7 separate regions of the Homo sapiens genome follow, and regions 1, 3, 4, 5, 6 and 7 are each linked to region 2. The links are contacts of gene promoters, found by promoter capture Hi-C in blood cells and fetal thymus (Javierre and others, 2016). All regions are on one chromosome and are shown on one strand. The core of a region is centred on a gene start or on the middle of the fragment in contact, and the rest is flanking DNA. Distances in the headings are between cores, read along the strand shown. Region 1 overlaps RPL34-DT (RPL34 divergent transcript). Region 2 holds the start of LEF1-AS1 (LEF1 antisense RNA 1). Region 3 has its middle 9.0 kb from the start of OSTC. Region 4 overlaps RPL34-DT (RPL34 divergent transcript). Region 5 has its middle 160 kb from the start of RPL34-DT. Region 6 has its middle 86 kb from the start of RPL34-DT. Region 7 has its middle 180 kb from the start of RPL34-DT.

Region 1 (3,249 bases), core at 660-3,159, 390 kb before region 2:
GATTTTTTAAGGAAAATGTAACTCAGCGCATGTCTATTCTCTATCATTTAAATTAAACAAAATTCGACTTCTTCACTTTGTGTGATTTGGTCTCATCACACAAGCTTTATCCATTTGAGATTTTGTTAATTTGTTATCAGGTGCAAAGATAGATCCTTTTATTCTTTAAAGGCAGATATAACTTTTCAAATACATCCTTTTACTTTCAACTAAACCCCAATTTTGCTGGCAAAAGAACACTGCTTTTCCTTTTTAGGAACTGGTTGTGGGCAGGTTTAAGGTACTGATAGGATGACCAGACATGTAGTGGAGAACCCCAGTGTCATTGCACAAATGCCAGCCTTCCCCATGTTCATGGCTGAGCCTAGTTAAAACTGTAGGGGAATTAAAGTTTTCTTCAGTGCACCAGCCATTTTTGGGGGGGTAATTATTGGGGGAAATGCTGTATCACTATCACCTGCCTCTCCTGCACTTATTTTGCAAAGTTTATAGTGCTTTCTTCTAGGCCTCCATAAAAATTTGTTCTCACAATTTCTGTGTGTGAAATGTGAACCCAAAAGTATCTGAGACAGGTCTTGATCAATTTAGAAAGTTTACTTTGCCGAGGCTAAGGACACACCCGAGACACAGCCTCAGGAGGTCCTGACAACATGTGCCCAAGGTGGCAGGGTACAGCTTGCTTTTATACATTTTAGGGGGACATAATAATACATCAATCAATAGATGTAAGATTTACAGCGGTTCAATCTAAAAAGGCAGGACAACTTGAAGTGGGGACTTCCAGGTCATAGGTAGATTTAAAAATTTTCTGATTGCCAATTGATTGAAAGAGTTTTTATCAGTAGAAAACAAAGTCTGGGTTGTGATAAGTGGTTGTGCAGTCCAAGGTTTTATCATGCAGTCGAAGCCTCCAGGTAGCAAGTTTCAAAGAGAATACATTGCAAATGTTTCTTATCAGACTTAGGGTTTGTGTTGATGTTAAATGCTGGTCAGCTTTTCCTGAATTCCAAAAGGGAGGACGGCATAATGAGGCATGTCCAATCCGCCATTCCCGTCATGGCCTGAACCAGTCTTTCAGGTTATCTTAGGAGTGCCCTGGCCAAGAGGAGGGAGTCCATTCAAATGGTTGCGGGGGTCATAGAATTTTATTTTTGGTTTACAGAAATAATCTGTAAAAATGTATTAAAAATAACAAAGCAAACAGTTTGCATTTGTTTTTAAAAGATAGTCATGCCTTGTGGCATGTAATACTTGTAATCCCAACACTTAGGGAGGCCAAGGTGGGAGGAACACTTGAGGACAGGAGTTCAAGACCAGCCTGGGCAACATACTGAGATCTCATCTCCAAAAATAACAGAAATAAAAAAAAAAATTAGCCAGGCATAGCAGCATGCACCTGTAATCCCACCTCCTCAGGAGGCTGAGGTGGGAAGATCTCTTAAGCCTAGGAGTTTAAGGTTACGGTGAGCTATGATGGCACCACTGCACTCCAGCCTGGATGACAGACAAGAAAGAAAGAACAAAAGAAAGAAAGGATGAACAAAAGAAAGAAGTGGGGAAGGAAGGAAGGAAAGAAAGGAAGGGAAGGAAATAGTTCATTTGACAAAGACTCCCTTATTGAGCAAATGTAGTCAGGCTCCTCTGAGCCCTCCTTTGACTAGACTTTCTCTTTGGCCCAATCTTTGGCTTGCCAAGTCTAGTTTTAGCTTTGGATACTGCTTAGCCAGTTTATAGAGAATCCCACCACCTTTGATATCTAATCAAGCTCTCCTCCCTACCCTTGATGTCTAATCAAGTTCTTCTCCCCCAATGTTGTTGATACCTAACCAAGTCCCTCTTTAGTATGTTTCTATCCAATGACTCCCTCATCATGCCCCTTGAATATATATTCCCACTTATCCCTGTTGTATTTATTTATTGATTGATTTTTGAGGTAGGGTCTCACTCTTGTCACTTAGGTTGTTATCCCTGTTGTATTTAGAATTGAGTTCAATCTCTCTCCTCTATTGCAATAGTCTTGAGTAAAGTCTTCCTTGCCATTTTTAACAAGTGTCTAGTGCAAAATTTCTCTTCAATGTGTTGATTCTATGCACCTCTTTTTCATTTTTAAATTATCATTAATTCTCCCCCGATCCCCCACAGTATAAATCTTCTCTTCTCACTATGTTCTGACACATTAATTATTTAAGCAAGGTTATTATTATTTTAAAAATCATAGACATCTATCTATTCCTTGATCTCTGTTCTTAGAGCGGCTTCACAGTTGTAATCCTGATATCTCTTTCACATTGCATTTTGGGGATTCTTTTTGCCTTTCTCTTATGTAGGATTCCCCTATTTAGTTCCGCTGTCTTCTTCTTTTTAATTTTTTTAAACAAATTTTTGGGATACATGTGAAATTTTGTTACATGTATGTAATGCACAGTGATCAAGTTGGGGTATTTAGGATGTCCATCACCTGAGTACAACACATTTTTTGTTAACTATAGTCACCCTACTCTGCTATCAAACATTGCATTTATCTCTTCTATCTAATTGCATGTTTGTACTCTTTAACCTATTTCTTTTCATTCTTTCTCCTTCCCCCAGTCACCTTTCCCAATCTCCATTATCTCTTTCCACTCTACCTCTAGGTGATCAAATTTTTTAGCTTCCACATGTAAGTAAGTACATACAATATTTATCTTTTTATGCCTGGCTTACTTCACTTAATATAATGATCATTCATGTTGCTGCAAATGACATGATTTCATTCTTTTTTTATGGCCAAATGGTATTCCACTGTGTATATTTACCACATTTTCTCTACCTATTCATCCATTGATGGGTATTTAAGTTTGTTTCATGTATTTGCTATTGTGAATAGTGCTGCAATAAAAATGCAAATGCTTTGTATCCCTTTGATCTATTGGTTTCTTTTGGATAGATACTTGGTAGTGGGGCTGCTGGATTGAATTCTGTTTTTAGTTTTTTGAGAAATCTCCATACTGTTTTTCATAGTGGCTGCACCAGTTTACATTCCCAGCAACAGAGTATACAACTTCCTTTTTCTCCACATCCTCACCAACATCCATTTTTTTTTTGTCTTTTTAATAATAGCCGTTCTGACTGGGGTGAGATGATGTCTCATTGTGGTTTTGATTTGCATTTCTCTGATGGATTAGTGATGTTGAGCATTTGAGCATTTTTTCATATACCTGTTGGCCATTTGTAGGTTGTCTTTTGAGAAATATCTATTCATGTGCTTTC
Region 2 (3,343 bases), core at 313-2,812:
AGCCCTCAATCACCACCTCCTTCTCGCCGACTCCCCCTCACCCCCCGCCTCCCCTCCAGCGGGCAGCCAAGGAGAGCTAGAGGCGGGGGAGGGGAGAGGGAGGAGAAGCGACGCAAGTGGGTAGCTTTTCAGCGCCGGCGAGGCGCGGGAGGAGGAGAAGCAGTGGGGAGGCGCAGCCGCTCACCTGCGGGGCAGGGCGCGGAGGAGGGACCCGGGCTGCGCGCTCTCGGGCCGAGGAACCAGGACGCGCCCGGAGCCTCGCACGCGGCCAAGCTCGGGGCGTCCCCTCCCCTCGGCCGGGCGAACTCAAGGGGCGCAGCTCTTTGCTTTGACAGAGCTGGCCGGCGGAGGCGTGCAGAGCGGCGAGCCGGCGAGCCAGGCTGAGAAACTCGAGCCGGGAACAAAGAGGGGTCGGACTGAGTGTGTGTGTCGGCTCGAGCTCCGGGCAGAGGCATTTGGGCCCGAGGCCCCCGCTGTGACTCCCCGAGACTCCGCAGTGCCCTCCACTGCGGAGTCCCCGCGCTTGCCGGCAAAAACTTTATTCTTGGCAAACTTCTCTTTCTCTTCCCCTCCTCCTCGGCCCCCATCTTCTGCTCCTCCTCCTTCTCTAGCAGATTAAATGAGCCTCGAGAAGAAAAACCGAAGCGAAAGGGAAGAAAATAAGAAGATCTAAAACGGACATCTCCAGCGTGGGTGGCTCCTTTTTCTTTTTCTTTTTTTCCCACCCTTCAGGAAGTGGACGTTTCGTTATCTTCTGATCCTTGCACCTTCTTTTGGGGCAAACGGGGCCCTTCTGCCCAGATCCCCTCTCTTTTCTCGGAAAACAAACTACTAAGTCGGCATCCGGGGTAACTACAGTGGAGAGGGTTTCCGCGGAGACGCGCCGCCGGACCCTCCTCTGCACTTTGGGGAGGCGTGCTCCCTCCAGAACCGGCGTTCTCCGCGCGCAAATCCCGGCGACGCGGGGTCGCGGGGTGGCCGCCGGGGCAGCCTCGTCTAGCGCGCGCCGCGCAGACGCCCCCGGAGTCGCCAGCTACCGCAGCCCTCGCCGCCCAGTGCCCTTCGGCCTCGGGGGCGGGCGCCTGCGTCGGTCTCCGCGAAGCGGGAAAGCGCGGCGGCCGCCGGGATTCGGGCGCCGCGGCAGCTGCTCCGGCTGCCGGCCGGCGGCCCCGCGCTCGCCCGCCCCGCTTCCGCCCGCTGTCCTGCTGCACGAACCCTTCCAACTCTCCTTTCCTCCCCCACCCTTGAGTTACCCCTCTGTCTTTCCTGCTGTTGCGCGGGTGCTCCCACAGCGGAGCGGAGATTACAGAGCCGCCGGGATGCCCCAACTCTCCGGAGGAGGTGGCGGCGGCGGGGGGGACCCGGAACTCTGCGCCACGGACGAGATGATCCCCTTCAAGGACGAGGGCGATCCTCAGAAGGAAAAGATCTTCGCCGAGATCAGTCATCCCGAAGAGGAAGGCGATTTAGCTGACATCAAGTCTTCCTTGGTGAACGAGTCTGAAATCATCCCGGCCAGCAACGGACACGAGGTGAGCGGGCCGCTGCCCCAGTTCCGAGAGGCGTGGCGGGTCCCTGGGAAACTCAGAGAGGGAGGAAGGGAACGAAGGCGCCCGGCCGCCCGGCTGAGGGTCCCGAGTAGATCCCTCGTTTGTTTTGGGGTGTGTGCGTAGCTGGGCCCCCGGTCCGCAGTGTGTGTGTGTGTGTGTGTGTGTGTGTGTGTGTGTGTGTGTGTAGGATGGGAGGTAGAGGGGCAGGGTAACTTATTCCAAATGGATCAGTTTAGGGGGTTCGGTGGCTGAACGGTTGGTTCGCGGGCAGGAACCCACAATGTTTCGCCTTCGGTCTTTTTGTTGGGCTGAGGGGTGCCGTGCTTTAAAGCGAGTAGGGCTGAATAACGCTACTGATAAATTCTTCCGTGGGACGGAAAACAAAGTGCACACGCTATCTCTTGGTAGATGTCTCTGCAAAAGTGCGTTAAACCACCAAAGGCTTAGGTGGAGACGAGCAGAGCCACAGGCGGGAGGAAGGGGAGGCGGGCGTGGGCTGGGGCAGGCGGGGCCGTCCCTACCACCGGTGAGCCGGGCCGCGGGGAGCAGGCCGGCCGATGGGGCGCGCACCCGGGCTGCGGGGGCGGTGCGGGGTTCAGTCCCTGCGGCCCCAGCGCCTGGGCTAGCAGCTGGGAGCTGTGGGTGCGCCGAGCCGACCCACCGCAAGGGTACACCCTGGCTGTACCGCCCCCAACTCTAGTTTTCTCCAACCGCCATCACTTGGAAACAAACCCACAACTTTTATTTGGGGTTTGGGACCGGATCAGGCCTTAAATCTACGCAGAAGAAAGGCGGAGAAGCAGCGGAAGCCGGGCACTAGTCCTGCAGGGTGGAAGGCGCTTTATCGGGTCTTCTGGCCCGCTGCGGGCGATAGAGCTGGTAACCTGAGTAGAGTAAATAGAGACACGTGGGTGCTGGCTAGAGAAAGCGCGGAGCAGGGCCGCGCTGGAGGGCTGTTTGAAGCCTAGTCCAGAGCTGGTCTAGGGGGCGGATGGACCCTGATACCCGACACTCCACTGGTCACCCTTGTTCCACAACTGGGAAACCCTCTGGAGGAAATCCGGTAGAAAAGTCCTGACACCCGAATGATTTAACCAACGCCTTTTCCCTCCAAAGAAACTTGGAGGATATACCTTTTTTTCCTTAAATGGCATCTTTCTACCCCCAAAAAGAAAGTGTGTGGTTTTGAGGGCGGGGACATTTTGGGTTTTAAACAGCGCGTTTAAGAACACCTCAGATCTGCCTTCTCTATCCCAATGGCAGAGGTGAGTACGAATTTTGAAAGGCTGGGGGCCTGCGTTCAGAGAACAGAATGGTGTTCTTTACCCGTTGAATCCAGTTTGAGCGGGCTGGGGGCGGGGGTAGGGTGCACCTAACCCCGCGTAAAAGATTTGTGACTACTGTGTGCTGGGAAAAGGAGGTCAAAGGGAGGACACACGTCCAGAGAACCGAATAACATCCAAAACACAGGCTTTTTGCCAAACTCTCCTATTTGTAGAGCAGCCTCTCTTTCTACCCATTTTGCTAGTCCTGCCTTAGTCCATAAATAATTTTGCCACCCACTTCATATTCTCCACAATTTTCTGGTCCGGGTGAAGGACACTGCGTTCGAATCCGAGAGCACTCGGGTGTTAAGTGGGCATGAGGAGGCCTGAGGGTGAAGGAGTAATACCACTGATTTGCACGTGTTTGAGGCTGTCTGGGTGGATGGTGATTACCAAAACTGATATCAACTGGGCTACCTTTTAGATGTCTATAACCTGACTCTCTAATTTTCCTCCCTTTAACCACAG
Region 3 (3,191 bases), core at 13-2,512, 470 kb before region 2:
GTATTGTGTTAACTTAGCTAAGCTGAACTACATCTCCCAGAATCCCTTCATTGCAGAGCTCTAAATTAGTATGGGCCATAAGAGACATCATTATTTTTAAGAAACATATTGTCTAACTAGTGAAGTAACTTTCCAACTGATCTTCAGTTATTTCTGAAACATTAAAAATACCCAATTAAAAATAGTGGACTAATTAAAAAAAATTGTAAAGCATTCATACCATGTAATATTATACAGCTATTAAAAAGCACACTGTGGAAATTTATTTTCTGGAATGGACAGATGTCCAAAATAGCTGTTTTTTTCTGAGACAGAGTCTCACTCTGTCACTCAGGGTAGAGCGCAGTGGTGCAGTCATGGCTCACTGCATTCTTGACCTCCTGGGCTCAAGCAATCCTCCTGCCTCAGCCTCCCGAGTAGCTGCGACTACAGGCACACGCCACCTTACCTGGCTAATTTTTGTGTTTTTTTATTGTAGAGATAGGGTTTCACTATGCTGCTTAGGCTGGTCTCGAACTCCTGGGCTCAAGAAATCCACCCACCTTGGTCTCCCAAAGTGCTGGGATTACAGGCATGAGCCACCATGCCCGGCCTCCACAATAGGCTTAAAATGAAGAAAATCAGACCATAAAATTGTATGTAGAGTACTGGCTTATTTGTTATTGTATGTATTTTCCACTGGAAAAAAGTCTGAAGGAACATAAAGATGACTGTGTCTATGTGATGTGATTATAGATTATTTTTCCCTTCTTTGAAACTACTTGTATTTCCTAATTTTTCTGTAATAAGCATATATTACTTTTGTAATTAAAATAAACTTTTATAATAGTACTTTGTAAGAACACAAAGTACTTTCTGGTCTTACATCAGCACATCTGTCTCTCTACCCAGGTGTCCACTGCTGTATTCTGTAAGAGATGCATAATAATGCTTCTCATATTTGCTTACATTCAAGTAGGAGTGATTGGATGTTTATTACTATGTACCATTACACAGCCAATTGTAATATCAGAAACTCAGTGTCTCAAATTCAGGGACAAAATATTTTTCACCATGGAATTCCTACCACCTCTCACAGTGCTGGCACATAGTAGGACTCATTAAATAAGTTGAATGAATCAATAAATGAACCCGATTCTTCCATTTCCTTTGATCCTTCAAGGTGTCATCTTAGCAATTGTACTTCCTTAATGTTTATTTAGTTTGTTCCCTCCTTTCTACCTCCACCACCACTTATTAATTCAGATCCACATGATGTCCTGCCTCTATTTCTCTCTACATTGCAGCCAGGGTGCATTGTTTAAGAAACTGAACAAATCTCATTATGCCAATCAAGATGCTGTCTTTACTGCTAGCTAGAGAGAAGTAAGTAGCTAAACAGGAAGTAAAATTTGGTTCTTTTTATTCACTACTGCCTTCTTTGCTATGTTACAACTCCTTTCCATATTTTAATACTTGTTTTGTGGAAATACGCCTAATCTCACACACTTCCCTCCGTTTCCTTGCCAAGATGGGAATCAATGACAGCAGGCAGGGCCGGGCACGGTGGCTCATGCCTGTAATCCCAGCACATTGGGTGGTGGAGGCCAGTGGATAACCTGAGGTCAAGACTTCGAGACCAGCCTGGCCAACATGGCAAAACTCCATCTCACTAAAAATACAAAATTAGCTGAGCGTCGTAGTAGGCATCTGTAATCCAAGCTACTCGGGAAGCTGAGGCACGAGAATCACTTGAACCCAGGAGGTGCAGGCTGCCGTGAACTGAGATTTCGCCACTGCATTCCAGCCTGGGCAACAGAGACTCTGTCTCAAAAACAAACAAACAAAAAGACAGTAGGCAGTAGTGTTGTTGATGACAACGTTCATCACTCATTCATTCATTCATCAAGCATTTATGGATCATGTAGCAGAAACAAGCTGTCTTAAATGCTGTCAGTGCCAAGATAACCAGTGCATAACTCTTATCCCCAAGAAACTGTTATCCTAGTCTGAGGAGAATACACGCTATGGCAGAACTGCCTGAGAAGCACATGCCTATTGGAGGTTTGGGCCAATTGGGCTTTGAGAGACCTGAGGAAATAGTGATTAATTATCACAGGTAGGCAGTGCACAGTGGCTCACGCCTGTAATCACAGCATTTTGAGAGGCCGAGGCAGGTGGATCACTTGAGGTCAGGAATAGGAGGTCAGGAACGGCCTGGCCAACATAGTGAAACCCCGCCTCTACTAAAAATACAAAAATTAGCTGGGCATGCTGGCGCATGTGTGTAATCCCAGTTACTTGGAGGCTGAGGCAGGAGAATCGCTTGAACCCAGGAGGCAGAGGTTGCAGTGAGCCGAGATCGCACCATTGCACTCCAGCCTGGACGACACAGCAAGACTCTCTCTCAAAAAAAAAAAAAAAAAATTCTCAAACAGGTAGGGAAAAGGCAGGCTTACAGAAGTGCTCACATTTGAGCAGGAGCATTGATAGAAGAGCTGGATTCCTCGGTTGGGAAAAGGCTTTCAGGCATTCGGACAAGGCTGAGCAAAGGCAGAGAGATGGGAAAGCCCCAAAGGTGGTAACAGAGTGATGGTGATCATGGAGGAGTAAAAGTGGAGATGCGACCTAAAAAAGAAGAAGCCTGACTAGACAGGGTCTTTCAAAGTCATGATGCTTTTAGATTTCATTATATAGGCATAAAGAAGTATTGAAGGATTTTAAAACTTGAAATGATTAGTATTGTGTTTGGAAGAATAGATGGGATGACAGAAAGACTTGAGGCAGAGAAACCTTTTAGGACCTTAGTGTGGAAGTCCAGATGAGAGACAGCGAGGGGCTGAGACAGACTGTGAGTGAGGAGAGCAGGGAAGGTGGTGGTAAAGCAAAAGCTATAAAATACCTTTTTTTTTTTTTCTTTTCTGTGAGCCTGTGTCTCACTCTGTCGCCAGGCTGGAGTGCAGTGGCTCGATCTCGGCTCACTGCAACCTCTGACTCCCTGGTTCAAGCGATTCTCCTGCCTTAGCCTCCTGAGTAGCTGGGATTACAGGTACCTCCCACCACACCCAGCTAATACTTTTATTTTTAGTAGAGACGGGGTTTCACCATGTTGGCCAGGATGGCCTCGATCTCCTGACCTTGTGATCCGCCCCCCTTGGCCTCCCAAAGTGCTGGGATTACAGGTGTGAGCCACTGCACCCCACCATAAGATC
Region 4 (3,288 bases), core at 41-2,540, 420 kb before region 2:
AGTGATTCTCCTGCCTCAGCCTCCCAAGCAGCTGGGATTACAGGCGCCCACCACCATGCCTGGCTAATTTATGTATTTTTAGTAGAAACGGGGTTTCACCATGTTGGCCAGCACCTGATCTCAAGTGATCTGCCCTCCTCAGCCTCCCGAAGTGCTGGGATTAGAGGCGTGAGCCACCGTGCCCGGCCTTTTTTTTTTTTTTTCCAGTTTTTTCTTTGTTTTTTAGTTTCTCCTTTTTTTTGTTTTTGTGTTTTTTTCATGTGAGTTGTACCTTTTCAAGAAAATCACTTTACTCAAGTTTTATGGAATTTTGTAGAGCAGCAAAATTAGATGTGTGGTTTAGTCTACCATCTTAACCCAGAAAACCATTTAGATCTACTTTTGCTCCTTTTTTAAAAATGAATGAAGTAGAAGTTTCAGGATACTGAGATAAAGACCAAAGCGTTCTTCTGTCTCCTTTATTTTCTCTCCATGACAATGTGAAACCATATTTAGATCAAACAAGTGTTCATTTAAGCCCTGTGCTTTTGAGAAAAATAGTTTTGAAAGTTTGAGCAATCTGAGCAAACTTGGCCCTTGGAGCTGACCCAAAGGAGTTTTCTACAAACCATGACCAAACTTTGTGGACACAGAGGCTGGTTGCTTAAAGAACAGACCTCTCCTAGGTCAGAAATGATAGGTTCCACTGAGAGCAAATTCAAACAACACTGTTTCATTTGAAGGAATTTCAATATCTAGGTTTTTCTCTAATAAATACATTAAACAACAAGCTTAATTTTTCTTGTGTTACTTATTACACAATTACAGATGTTACTTACTGAAATATGGATAAATTGTCTTTTAGGAAATGTTGACTGAGGACTAAGTATGAAGTACAATAAATAGAAAGTCAGAAAATACTAATCCCATTCATTTCCTATTTAAAAATGAGAAAAATGAATTATTAATTGTATTGTAAGAGTTATGGATACTTCAGGACTATAAACTGGGAATTTTGCCAAGTGTTGCTCAGACCAACCTTGATTAACATTCATTCACCATTCATTCATTTATTCATTCATTCACTCAAACATGTTTCTTGATCCCCCATATATGCAAGGCTCTGAACTAGTTACTGGACCTCTACCCGTGAACAAGGCAGACCCTGCCTTCTTGGAACTTGTGCTCTGGCAGAACGGACAAGCATGAAACAAGTAATTGCAACATGATTTACTGTGGTAAGAATATAAGAGAGGAGTGCTTGCCTTAATCTCAGGTGTAATGTTTGAGTTGAGATCTGAGAGAGGAGTAGATGTTAATTAGGCAAAGAGCAGGCATAGAATAGGGGGCCTGGAAATCTACCAGATCTAAGTCACAGAACAGTCAGTGTAAATACCCAGAGACATTCCTTGAGACACAGAGGGGCACAGACACAGCAAGAGAACTGGGCAGGAGGCAAAGTCCACATCATGATTAGCTGTAATGCTTCCTCAGGAAGACAAGAACTCCTCACAGCAGAAACACAGGGCAGAGAAATTTTTCTGCCCAACAGTTTGAACGGTCACCCTGCTTCAACATGACAAAACAAGCCAACGAAAATATTTTACTCAGGACAAGTTTTCAAAAAGCATAAATGCATTTTTTAATGGTTTAGACTTTTATTTGAATACAAAATGAAGTCTCTTACTGGTGAATAAGAACAGCATCTATTAAGAGTACCCAAATACCATCTATTATGTTATTTGCTAATGTATTTATACCACTCCCGCAAGCTGGTGTTTCTGTTTTGTTTTGTTTTAATCACAATTCAGTGTTAAAAAGATAAAGCTTTTTAAACATTCACTGTTGCTCAAAAGCTGAGTGCATGTGCTGTCTCAGATCATGAGGTTAGTGGTGCTTATTTCAATATTAAATAAAAGGATTCATTTTCATTGAAGCAAGCAGGGAATTAAGCTTACAACTTCAATTACCAATAATTAATTCTCCACACTGCAAGCCATGCAGTTTGCGTTTAAACTCCCAATGCCCCAAGGATAACAAAAATCTATTTTGATCACTTTTTATTTTCATCATTTAAAGAGTACATCTTATTTTAATTAGGCACATACATTTCCAGATTATAAGAGAGAACAAATATCCCTTCTAAAAAAAAAAACAGGGAATTGTGGGGAGTGGGGGACAGAGGACTTTTAAGCATGACAAAGAAATTTCTGAGATATTTTCTTTCTCTTGCTTTTATTGAAAGAGCACCTAATATTGTCGAGAATTAGCTACCTCATATCCATGAAGCTATTATTTACAGGCAGATGAATAATTTCTCTAAATTCATTTTTCCTTATGCATTAAGCTATTCTTTGCTGGCTTTTCATTATTTAAGAGAAAGAAAGCAATTGAGCACATGATTTTAAATGAGGCAAAATTAAGTCCTGCTCCAAAGCCAACCCCACCAACTCTGGAAGCAGGCATAAGGATGAGAAGGACTCTTCAGAGAGGGAGGCTTGACCTAGTGGTGGGTAAGGGAGACTGAGCTCATCAGGATCTTCCTTATTCTTTTGACAAATTCTGAGCAACAGAAAGGAACCGCCAGGGTGTCACCAAAGCAAAGACACAATCAGAGCTGGAGTTCTTAGAGATAAAAAGTGATGCTTGGAATTAGGTTTCATCAGAAAGAGGCAGACCTGTGTGGCATCCAGAAAATAAGTTCTAAGAAGACTCTTCTTTCAAGTTTTAAAGACATTAGGTTTCTTCCAGCCTGTAAGTGCTAACTTTGCCCCAAATAAATCTCATAATTCATAATACAATTGACCATGTTACAGTAAAATCTCATTTAAGTGGAACTTAATTAAATGAAACCATAAATTAACTAGAATTAGCTTCTATACTTGGCTTTCAGGAAAAATAGGGGAATCATAAAAAAAATGCAGTATAAGTCATTTAATAAAAAGTAATAGTTACAAAGGCAAGTTCTAAGGTCAGTGCACCTTCATCCCAGTCTTCAACCCACAGCTGAACAATGTCCAAACATATCCAGAATCTTGATCTTAGTACCCTACAAGATCTTTAATATAGGCAATAATATACTTTCTTTGTTTGTTTGTTTTTGATGTTTTTTTGAGATGGAGTCTCCCTCTGTTCCCCAGGCTGGAATGCAGTGGTGCGATCTCAGCTAACTGGAGCCTCTGCCTTTTGGGTTCAAGCGATTCTTGTGCCTCAGCCTCCTGAGAGCTGGGATTACAGGCCTGTGCCCTGGCTAATTTTTGTATTTTTAGTAGAAACGGGGTTTCACCATATTGGCCAGGCTGGTCTCAA
Region 5 (3,048 bases), core at 170-2,669, 290 kb before region 2:
CTACTCTATAAAACTCAGTAAAGGGCTGCTCGCCATTTATTTGGCATCATAGCTATTATAAAAATAAGTTTATCTTGGATTTTTAAGACTTTCCTTTGTGAAATATTGCCTCAAGATAAGAGGACATGCACTTAAATTAGTCGTCCCTCTAATCACCAAGTCACAGGGAGAAGGGCGGTGCAAGGAGGATATTCTTTGACCTGAATAGAGAACATTAAGGGGCAGGGAGGAGCTGGCAAGGCATTGATGTGATTAACAAACATGTTTTAAAAACTTGTTGGGATAGACAAATTCTGCCTTTCTAGGAGACATGTGAAACCCACTCCTCTAAGCATTTCCTTTGGAATTGCATCACAGGGCTTTTTATTTGCCTTCAGCTTCAGCTATTGACTCAAGAAGATGGTGGGAACTGTTGTCTTTCCTCTTGCAAATCTCATTTGGCTGCTGAGACAGGGCCATCCTTCAGGACTGGACACCTGAAGATGGGTGCAGGAAAAAGGAAACTGGAGAGTGGAGACAGGAAGGCATTTGAGATGTCAGTTTTCCTGAGGCCAGGCACTTTAGGATTAAGGAGCAGGTCCCAATTTATTTCCCCCAAGACTATGCCAGGCCACCTCATCCATCCCAAATAAGGTCCAATGGGTGCTTCCAAGTGAGTGGCTCAAACCACTTGTTTGTTTGGTTCAACTAACCCTCCATTGTCTGACAGACTGAGTAGGAGGGAGAAATCGCAGGAGAGAAGAGGAGGACGGAGATCCTTTATTTAGAAATATTTATTTTTCTTACTCAACTTTCTTGCTTGTAATGCACTGACAGTATTATTAATCACAAATGATATTGGAAGAGTAAATAAAAATAATGTTTGTGCTGGGTCGCTTGAGCTCAGGAGTTTTAGACCAGCCTGGGCAACATGGTGAAGCCCCATCTCTACCAAAAATACAAAAATATTAGCCGGGTTTGGTGGTGTGCTCCTGTAGCCCCAGCTACTCAGAGGCTGAGGTGGAAGTATCACTAGAGCCCAGGAGGTGGAGGCTGCAGTGAGCCAAGATTGCACCACTGTACTCTAGTCTGGGTGACAGAGTGAGACCCTGTCTCAAAAAAATAAAAAAATAATGTTTTCCAAAAGTCCCACAGAGGCTCTGGTCCACAGACAAGACATAATATACTGGTGTGAATCGGGACTTCACTCCTGGTGCCAGTGCTAATCCCAGGCTATAGTGGGCAGGGGCAGGTCTAGAGGATGGCGGAAAGGCATGATCACTTGCAAATGCACTAATTCCAACAGCCACATGATGATCCTATGTCCACCTTGGCCATTCTTATTGAATCTACTGTGCTAGTTATTAAGCTATCACCTCTCAGCTTTAAACCCATCCTTCTACACTCCATGCTGGGACTCAGGAAACTACATTTTTCCTTTGTCAGCTCGTTCTCTGTTAGATTTTGCCAATAGGGAGTAATAGAGGAAGACTGAAAGGCAGAAAGGGGAAGCATGGTGGAGCAATTTGTTCCTATCTCCAGCTTGTACTTGCACTCCCAGAACCAGTCTCAGTTTCAATGTGGTTTCATACTGCTATGGTTTCAATGTGTCTCCCAAAGTTCACAGGGGCTGGAAATTTGATTCTCAGTGCAGCCGTGTTGAGAGGTGGGACCCTTAAGGGGGGATTAGGCCATGAGGGCTCTGCTCTCATAAATCAATTAATGTCATTATTGCCAGGATGGATTAGTTATTGTGGGAATGAGTTCCTGATAAAGGATGACTTTGGCCCCCTTCCTCTCTGGCAAATGTGCTCTCTTGCCCTTTCACCTCCTGCCATGGGACGACATAGCAAGATGGCCTTTGCCAGATGTGAGATCCTAAACCTTGGACTTCCCAGCCTTCATAACTATAAGAAATAAATATATTTTCTTTATAAATGTACCCAGTCTGTGGTATTCTGTTATAGCAACACAAAACAGACTAAGATAGTCTCCCACCACTCCCATCAGAGATGTCAGCACCAGCCCGGTGGTTCTCCTTCTCAGAGGTATGAGTCCCAGCTCCATGTGCTTATCCCTTCAAGTTTCTAGGTTATGATAACACCAACATCTTCCCTGTGTTTTTCTAACCTTAGAGGTGGTGGATAATTTTCACACTTAATATTGCTGCATTATTTTTGACTTTTTTATTCTCAAGCACCTATTCTCTATTTTCTCACATTTTACCATAAAGTTTAGAGCACTATACACATGGTGCTGCACCTTGCATTTTTCATGTCGCAATACGTCTTACAGAGATGTGTGCATAGAGTTCTTCACAATTCTTTACATTAACCGATAATATTCCTTTAGGCTGAAGTACCATAATTTATTTAACTAGTCCGCTATTGGTGGAGGTTTTGCTTACTTCAATATTTTTCCAATTGAGAAAAAATGTCTTAATGAATGACATAGCAGAATTCAGAATTATATATACCATACATCATTTTGCATATGTGCAAATGTCTCAGTTCATTTTGTGCTGCTGTAACAGAACACCCAAGACTAGGTAATTAAAAAAGAACAGGAATTTATTTCTCACAGTTCTCAAGGCTGGTAAGTACAAGGTCAAGGCACCAGCATCTGGTGAGGACCTTATTTCCATGCCTCAAATGGTAGAAGGCAGAGGGCAAGAGAGAAACAACTCCCTCTGCCAAACACCTTTATAATGGCACCTAATTCCATTCATAGGGGTGGCACCTTCATGGCCTGGTCGCGTCTTAAAGGCCTCATCTCTTAATACAACCACATTGGCAACACCTAAGTTTTGGAGGGGATTCATTAAAAGCATAGCAGCAAGTATATCTGGTGGACAAATTTTCCAAAGTGACCTCACCTGGATCTAAGAGTATAAAAGAAAATTGCCCCCCATGGTGACTGTACCAATTTACACTCATACTAACAATGTATGAGAGTGTTTGCTTCCCTCACCTTCACTGAAAGAGTGTTATAAACCACTTACTGAAGTCAGTAAAATGAGTCTTTCATTGAGCATCTGAAGTCATGGCCTTGGTAGTTAAAAGGTACTGT
Region 6 (3,182 bases), core at 34-2,533, 370 kb before region 2:
GTAGAACATCTTTCCAAAAAACAAATAGAACATGTTCATGACAGAAGGAATAAGGTTGGAAAGGGACAGAAATACATGGAGACAGAGAAAAGCAGAGAGATTGGAAGACAAAAATAAAGCAAAGATGAGACAGAAAGAGAGAGTGAGAGGGGGAGAGAAGTTGAGAGTTTAAGAGAGATAAACTAAAGAAATCGAGTTCTGTAGAACTGGAATCTTCAAAATACAATTAAACAAACTAATTCCCCAGAGAATGGAAGTAAACAGCTCTGAAAAAGCACCAGTTTTCTCTGTTGAAATTAGTGAGAGGAGTTCTGTCCAGTTAAACAGAAAGGACTGAGCCCAACTCCATTTCACTCCCAAAAGGGTTATAAAATGAGGCTATAGAGAATAGGATGAGTCAAGAGGAACAACAGATTCTAACTTGAGCAAACCAGCACTCTCACCTAAACATGAGGGGTCGACGCAAAGGTTTTGTAAGGTGCTTTGTGGTTCTAGAATTCTATGTCTGTCAGGGTGCGTAGGGTGGCCACTGAGAAGTACAGTGATGGGCTCAGATCCAAGAGAGGGTGGAGAAGGAAGGAAGTTGGTGTTTTATTCCATGCTGAAGTTTAATTCAAATTCTAGCTTGTTTATCCTCTTTCTTCCCACTGCTCCTTTACAACAGAACCTCAGGACTAAATAACTCTCATAAAAAGAGCTGATTTTCAGGACAATATTGGGGTTTAGTTAAATAAGCAATGCAAGAAGTCAATGCTTTTTAAAGTACCACTTAATACTGTGACTGTTTAAAAGGACTTAAATTTGAACTATATAAATAACATGGATACAGTTTCTTTGTAAAAACTGAAAATATTATATGTCAGGCTAAACTCCCCTTTCACCACTACCCTTCTTTTTTTTTTTTTTTTTTTTTTTTTTTTTTTTTTTTTGGCAGGGTCTTGCGCTGTTGCCCAGGCACAATCTCGGCTCAGGGCAACCTCTACCTCCTGAGTTTGAGTGATTCTCATGCCTCAGCTTCCCGATTAGCTGGGATTACAGGTGCACACCACCATGCCAAGCTAATTTTTTTTTTTTTAATTTTTAGTAGGGACAGGTTTCACCATGTTGGCCAGGCTGGTTTTAAACTCCTGGCCTCAAGAGTTTCGCCCACCTCAGCCTCCCAAAGTGCTGGGATTACAGGCATGAGGCACTGCACCTGGCTTTCACCACTATTCTTAATCTCAAATCATCCCAACCTCTCCCAGTTTACTACATTTTCTTAACAGACCTTTTTCTAGGTAGAAACTACGTAGTATTGTTTCATGTTTGTAAGTATGTCTTTTTAATATAAACAATATATTTTTAAAAAATTTTATGTCTTAGAGATGGATCCTTATCAGTATGCAAGCTCCATCTCATTCCTTTGAACTACTTTGTAGTGTTCTGTGGCTTAGATGGATCATAGCTTATTTAGTCATTCCTCTATGATCTACAAGTGGTTTCCAAGTTATTGTTTGTTTTTTGCTACTGCAAATAAATGCTGCATCCTTGTATATGCTTCCTTGTATACCCTATGCAATTGTTTCTCTAAGGTAGAAATAATTTGGTTTTTAGCCTTTGGGTCTCCAGGTCTTATGTATGCAGCTTGAATTTAGCTACATGCCACAGAAAATTTGAAAAATGGCCCCCAAATTGGAGAGAAGAGTCACTTTTTAATCTTAGCAAAACATTGGCCCACTTTGCAGCTTCATAAAATGACTACTGTATTCATTTTCCTGTCTAGGTGAGACTATTGATTAAGAATGCTACATATGGCATCACACAGAAAAATACTATTTTAGTGCTCGTCTTGGCAGCACATATACTAGAAAAATACTATTTTAATATTCTTTCTTTTGTAGCTTGCATGTTAAAAATGTGTTTCAGGAATAAAAAATAATTTTATATTTATGTGAAAACATGTATAAACCAAGACTTTCAACATACTGCAAAGAGCCACTCTGTAAGAGTAAAGTATTTTCTTTTACTAAATGAACACTTAATCAATAACATGAAATGGGCAAGAATGAAAAGAGAATAATGTCAAAATTGAAAAGCAGCTGATAAGCTCACATCATCATTTTTGACATGTAATGTCTATACTGGCAGCTTTAGGATCAATCCAGTCACAAATCCTTTGAGCAGCTGTTTGTATGCCTTCGACTAATGAAGCTCTTTGAGTGCTCTGTTATTAATGTCATAAAGGGGGAGAGAGGATAAAGAAAGAGACAGTGGACCAAAGAAGAGACATTCTAAAAAGAGACTCCCTTTCCCCAGCCACTTGTGGAAATCCATTTCAGGTCAACTGGGACCAATTGTGAGTTCTGGCCTTGGGCAAAATTCCTATTTGCAGTCAATAAATTAATGGGTGACACCTTTAAATGGGTTAGCTTTAACTGAATCAATGTCTGATGTGGCAATCTATCCTCGGGCCAAATTCCCACTGAAGTTCATATGTTGGGCCTCACTGAAGAAATGGACAAATCCTTGAACTTTTTTTTTTTTTTTAAATCACTTCTTTAAAAAGCAGCATTCAGGCGCTGTTTTTACTTTCCTGTCCTTGCCCATCCTTTCTTTAATTGGCATGGAAGAACTCCCAATATTAATTGATTTCATTTGCACAGAACTCTACAATGTACAGAGTTCTTAGCCTGGGTGATTCTAGTTGAATCTGTTTCTTCTAAAAAAGTTGTCCATAAGGCCAAAGAGGTAACCGTTCCTTTACAGTAGCCCTTTTGAAACCTCTAGGCAGCAGGAAACAGAGAAGGGCTGCTCTGTTGGTTCAGCTGGCTTTTACAGCTGAAGATAACATGAACCACAAATCTGTCGAGGTTCATGTTTTCTTGGAGGGGGAGGAGAATTCAGGGAGCAAAATAAAGAGAAGTTGAAGTTTAATGTTTCATAACCGTGTGCTCTTTTCCAGGTTTTATTCCTGTAATATTCTCTGTGTGTGGCCAGGCCCTTCATAACACAGCGCTATTGAAGAAGAAGGAGAGGGAAAAGGAAAAGGGAGGAAAGGGTGGAGGTAGGGATAAAAAGTAGCCTTTGAGGGGGCAAAAAGTCCACTGCTCTTAAGTGACAACTGTGACCTTAACTGGAACTAATCAAGCCCTCATGGAATTGAGTTGGCCATTCAATTCTGAAAATAGGATAGGGGGTAAGTA
Region 7 (3,154 bases), core at 266-2,765, 270 kb before region 2:
ATAGGTACACCTGAATCCAAACTGCAAGATGATATGTATAAATCCTATTCCTTCTTTTACCATTTCCACAGTCAGAACAGTTTGTAGTCTCGTAGTTGGGATTTGATTTACACAAATATAATTATCACTGCAGCACACTAGTATTTTGAGAATTAAAGCTTTAACACTGCCATACAAAAGATTGCATGGTAAGTTATTCTAAGCACCACAATTTTGGTCATTGTAAATTCAACTCTGACGGGTTTATAGGATTGAGCACTCCATATACATTATTTGTGCCTCATTCTTTTCCCCATTGCCTCAAGCATTTGGACACTTTTCTAAAGTCATACTTTGATGCCAAGTGGTACCATTGAAATGATCTGGCCTAACCTTGTCTTTTGAAGACCAAGATACAAAGGCTCAAACAGATGATATGACTTGCTCTGGGTCATACAGGCTTTTTTTTTTTTTTTTTTTTTTTTTGGGATGGAGTCTCACTCTGTTGCCTAGGCTGGAGTGCAGTGGTGCGATCTCAGCTCACTGCAATCTCCACCTCCTGGGTTCAAGTGATTCTCCTGTCTCAGCTTCCTGAGTAGCTGGGACTACAGGTGTGTGCCACCACGCCTGGCTAATTTTTGTATTTTTAGTAGTGATGGGGTTTCACTATGTTGGTCAGGATGGTCTTCAACTCCTGACCTCAGGTGATCCACCTGCCTCAGCCTCCCAGCATACAAGCTATTAATGGCAGAGCCAGTGCTAGAAGCTGTGTCTCTAGAATGCCAGCTTCTGACTCAAACTCCTGCTCTTCGAGCTTCTATGCAGAAAATGGCCATCGTAAGAGGGGTTTACAAGAGGAGGTGAAAAGGACAATCACCCTAACCCAAATTGACCAGAATAGAGTTGAGTGAGCAGGTCAAAATTGTGGCAAGATAAAAACAAATAACGATTATTTGAGTGAAAATTACCAGGGATTGGGGGGGTGGAGCCAAGATGGCTGAAAAGGAACAGCTCCAGTCTACAGCTCCCAGTGTGAATGATGCAGAAGACAAATGATTTCTGCATTTCCAACTGAGGTACCAGGTTCATCTCACTGGGGAGTGTCAGACAGTGGGTGCAGGACAGTGGGTGCAGCACACTGAGCATGAGCCGAAGCAGGGCAAGGCAGCACCTCACCTGGGAAGTGCAAGGGGTCAGGGAATTCCCTTTCCTTGCCAAGGAAAGGGGTGACAGAAGGCACCTCAAAAATCAGGTCACTCCCACCCTAATACTGTGCTTTTCCAATGGTCTTAGCAAATGGCACACCAGGAGATTGTATCCTGCGCCTGGCTCAGAGGGTCCTACGCCCATGGAGCCTCGCTCATTGCTAGCACTGATCAATGCTAGCAATCTGATCAGCAGTCTCAGATCAAACTACAAGATGGCAGCGAGGCTGGGGGAGGGGCACCTGCCATTGCCAAGGCTTGAGTAGGTAAACAAAGCAGCCGGGAAGCTCAAACTGGGTGGAGCCCACCGCAGCTCAAGGAGGCCTGCCTGCCTCTGTAGACTCCACCTCTGTGGGCAGGGCATAGCCAAACAAAAGGCAGCAGAAACCTCTGCAGACTTAAATGTCCCTGTCTGACAGCTTTGAAGAGAGTAGTAGTTCTCCCAGCACACAGCTTGAGATCTGAGAACGGACAGACTGCCTCCTCAAGTAGGTCCCCAACCCCCGAGTAGCCTAACTGGGAGGCACCCCCCAGTAGGGGCAGACTGACACCTCACACAGCCGGGTACTCCTCTGAGACAAAACTTCCAGAGGAACAATCAGGCAGCAACATTTGCTGTTCACCAATATCCGTTGTTCTGCAGCCTCTGCTGCTGATACCCAGGCAAACAGGGTCTGGAGTGGACCTCCAGCAAAATTCAACAGACCTGCAGCTGAGAGTCCTGACTGTTAGAAGGAAAACTAACAAACAGAAAGGACATCCACACCAAAACCACATCTGTAAGTCACCATCATCAAAGACCAAAAGTAGATAAAACCACAAAGATGGGGAGAAAACAGAGCAGGAAAACTGAAAATTCTAAAAATCAGAGCACCTCTCCTCCTCCAAAGGAATGCACCTCCTCACCAGCAATGGAACAAAGCTGGACGGAGAATGACTTTGACGAGTTGCAAGAAGAAGGCTTCAGACGGTCAAACTACTCGGAGCTAAAGGAGGAAGTTCAAACCCATGGCAAAGAAGTTAAAAACCTTGAAAAAAGATTAGATGAATGGCTAGCTAGAATAACCAATGCAGAGAAGTCCTTAAAGGGCCTGATGGAGCTGAAAACCATGGCACGAGAACCATGTGATGAATGCACAAGCCTCAGTAGCCAATTCAATCAACTGGAAGAAAGGGTATCAGTGATGGAAGATCAAATGAATGAAATGAAGGAGAAGAGAAGTTTAGAGAAAAAAGAATAAAAAGAAACGAACAAAGCCTCCAAGATATATGGGACTATGTGAAAAGACCAAATCTACGTCTCATTGGTGTACCTGAAAGTGACGGGGAGAATGGAACCAAATTGGAAAACACTCTGCAGGATATTATCCAGGGGAACTCCCCCAATCTAGCAAGGCAGGCCAACATTCAGATTCAGGAAATACAGAGAATGCCACAAAAATACTCCTCGAGAAGAGCAACTCCAAGACACTTAATTGTCAGATTCACCAAAGTTGAAATGAAGGAAAAAATGTTAAGGGCAGCCAGAGAGAAAGGTCGGGTTACCCACAAAGGGAAGCCCATCAGACTAACAGCAGATCTCTTGGCAGAAACTCTACAAGCCAGAAGAGAGTGGGGGCCAATATTCAACATTCTTAAAGAAAAGAATTTTTAACCCAGAATTTCATATCCAGCCAAACTAAGCTTCATAAGTGAAGGAGAAATAAAATACTTTACAGACAAGCAAATGCTGAGAGATTTTGTCACCACCAGGCCTGCCCTAAAAGAGCTCCTGAAGGAAGCACTAAACATGGAAAGGAACAACCAGTACCAGCCACTGCAAAAACATGCCAAATTGTAAAGACCACTGAAGCTAGGAAGAAACTGCATCAACTAATGAACAAAATAACCAGCTAACATCATAATGACAGGATCAAATTCACACATAACAATATTAATCTTGAATGTAAATGGGCTAAATGCTCCCATTA

The links. Contacts are between HindIII fragments. The CHiCAGO score rates a contact against its expected background, and 5 or more counts as called.
Region 1: a fragment that was not itself captured here is called in contact with the fragment with the promoter of LEF1-AS1 in region 2 in 6 of 17 cell types (activated CD4 T cells, naive CD4 T cells, non-activated CD4 T cells and 3 more); the score reaches 11.9 in activated CD4 T cells.
Region 3: a fragment that was not itself captured here is called in contact with the fragment with the promoter of LEF1-AS1 in region 2 in 3 of 17 cell types (fetal thymus, naive CD8 T cells and activated CD4 T cells); the score reaches 13.0 in fetal thymus.
Region 4: a contact is called between a fragment that was not itself captured here and the fragment with the promoter of LEF1-AS1 in region 2, in 9 of 17 cell types (fetal thymus, activated CD4 T cells, naive CD4 T cells and 6 more). The highest score is 19.8, in fetal thymus.
Region 5: a contact is called between a fragment that was not itself captured here and the fragment with the promoter of LEF1-AS1 in region 2, in 4 of 17 cell types (non-activated CD4 T cells, total CD4 T cells, naive CD4 T cells and 1 more). The highest score is 11.2, in non-activated CD4 T cells.
Region 6: a fragment that was not itself captured here is called in contact with the fragment with the promoter of LEF1-AS1 in region 2 in 7 of 17 cell types (non-activated CD4 T cells, fetal thymus, total CD4 T cells and 4 more); the score reaches 18.9 in non-activated CD4 T cells.
Region 7: a contact is called between a fragment that was not itself captured here and the fragment with the promoter of LEF1-AS1 in region 2, in 4 of 17 cell types (non-activated CD4 T cells, activated CD4 T cells, fetal thymus and 1 more). The highest score is 6.9, in non-activated CD4 T cells.

What each region holds. Positions count from the first base shown.
Region 1 is chr4:108,552,026-108,555,274 of GRCh38, reverse strand. The region is part of intron 2 of RPL34-DT (RPL34 divergent transcript); the gene reads left to right. Among named protein-coding and RNA genes, the nearest start is that of RPL34-DT, 67 kb to the left of the region's middle. The HindIII fragment of the contact is 3,606 bases long and covers 107-3,249 here.
Region 2 is chr4:108,165,744-108,169,086 of GRCh38, reverse strand. It overlaps LEF1-AS1 (LEF1 antisense RNA 1), which reads right to left and starts at 1,562. Exons shown (of 3, transcript NR_029374.1): 1 at 1,254-1,562. It overlaps LEF1 (lymphoid enhancer binding factor 1), which reads left to right and starts at 155. Exons shown (of 12, transcript NM_016269.5): 1 at 155-1,532. The coding sequence starts at 1,320. LOC124900752 reads right to left here and starts at 1,148. Exons shown (of 2, transcript XM_047416528.1): 1 at 185-1,148. The coding sequence starts at 587. RefSeq lists silencers at 156-205, 1,962-2,201 and enhancers at 466-555, 1,583-2,084. The HindIII fragment of the contact is 8,163 bases long and covers 1-3,343 here.
Region 3 is chr4:108,640,018-108,643,208 of GRCh38, reverse strand. No RefSeq gene overlaps it. Among named protein-coding and RNA genes, the nearest start is that of OSTC, 9.0 kb to the left of the region's middle. The HindIII fragment of the contact is 8,651 bases long and covers 1-3,191 here.
Region 4 is chr4:108,588,292-108,591,579 of GRCh38, reverse strand. All of the region lies in intron 1 of RPL34-DT (RPL34 divergent transcript), which reads left to right. Among named protein-coding and RNA genes, the nearest start is that of RPL34-DT, 31 kb to the left of the region's middle. The HindIII fragment of the contact is 1,036 bases long and covers 773-1,808 here.
Region 5 is chr4:108,457,309-108,460,356 of GRCh38, reverse strand. No RefSeq gene overlaps it. Among named protein-coding and RNA genes, the nearest start is that of RPL34-DT, 160 kb to the left of the region's middle. The HindIII fragment of the contact is 5,288 bases long and covers 1-3,048 here.
Region 6 is chr4:108,533,274-108,536,455 of GRCh38, reverse strand. No RefSeq gene overlaps it. Among named protein-coding and RNA genes, the nearest start is that of RPL34-DT, 86 kb to the left of the region's middle. The HindIII fragment of the contact is 4,477 bases long and covers 1-3,182 here.
Region 7 is chr4:108,439,393-108,442,546 of GRCh38, reverse strand. No RefSeq gene overlaps it. Among named protein-coding and RNA genes, the nearest start is that of RPL34-DT, 180 kb to the left of the region's middle. The HindIII fragment of the contact is 2,709 bases long and covers 161-2,869 here.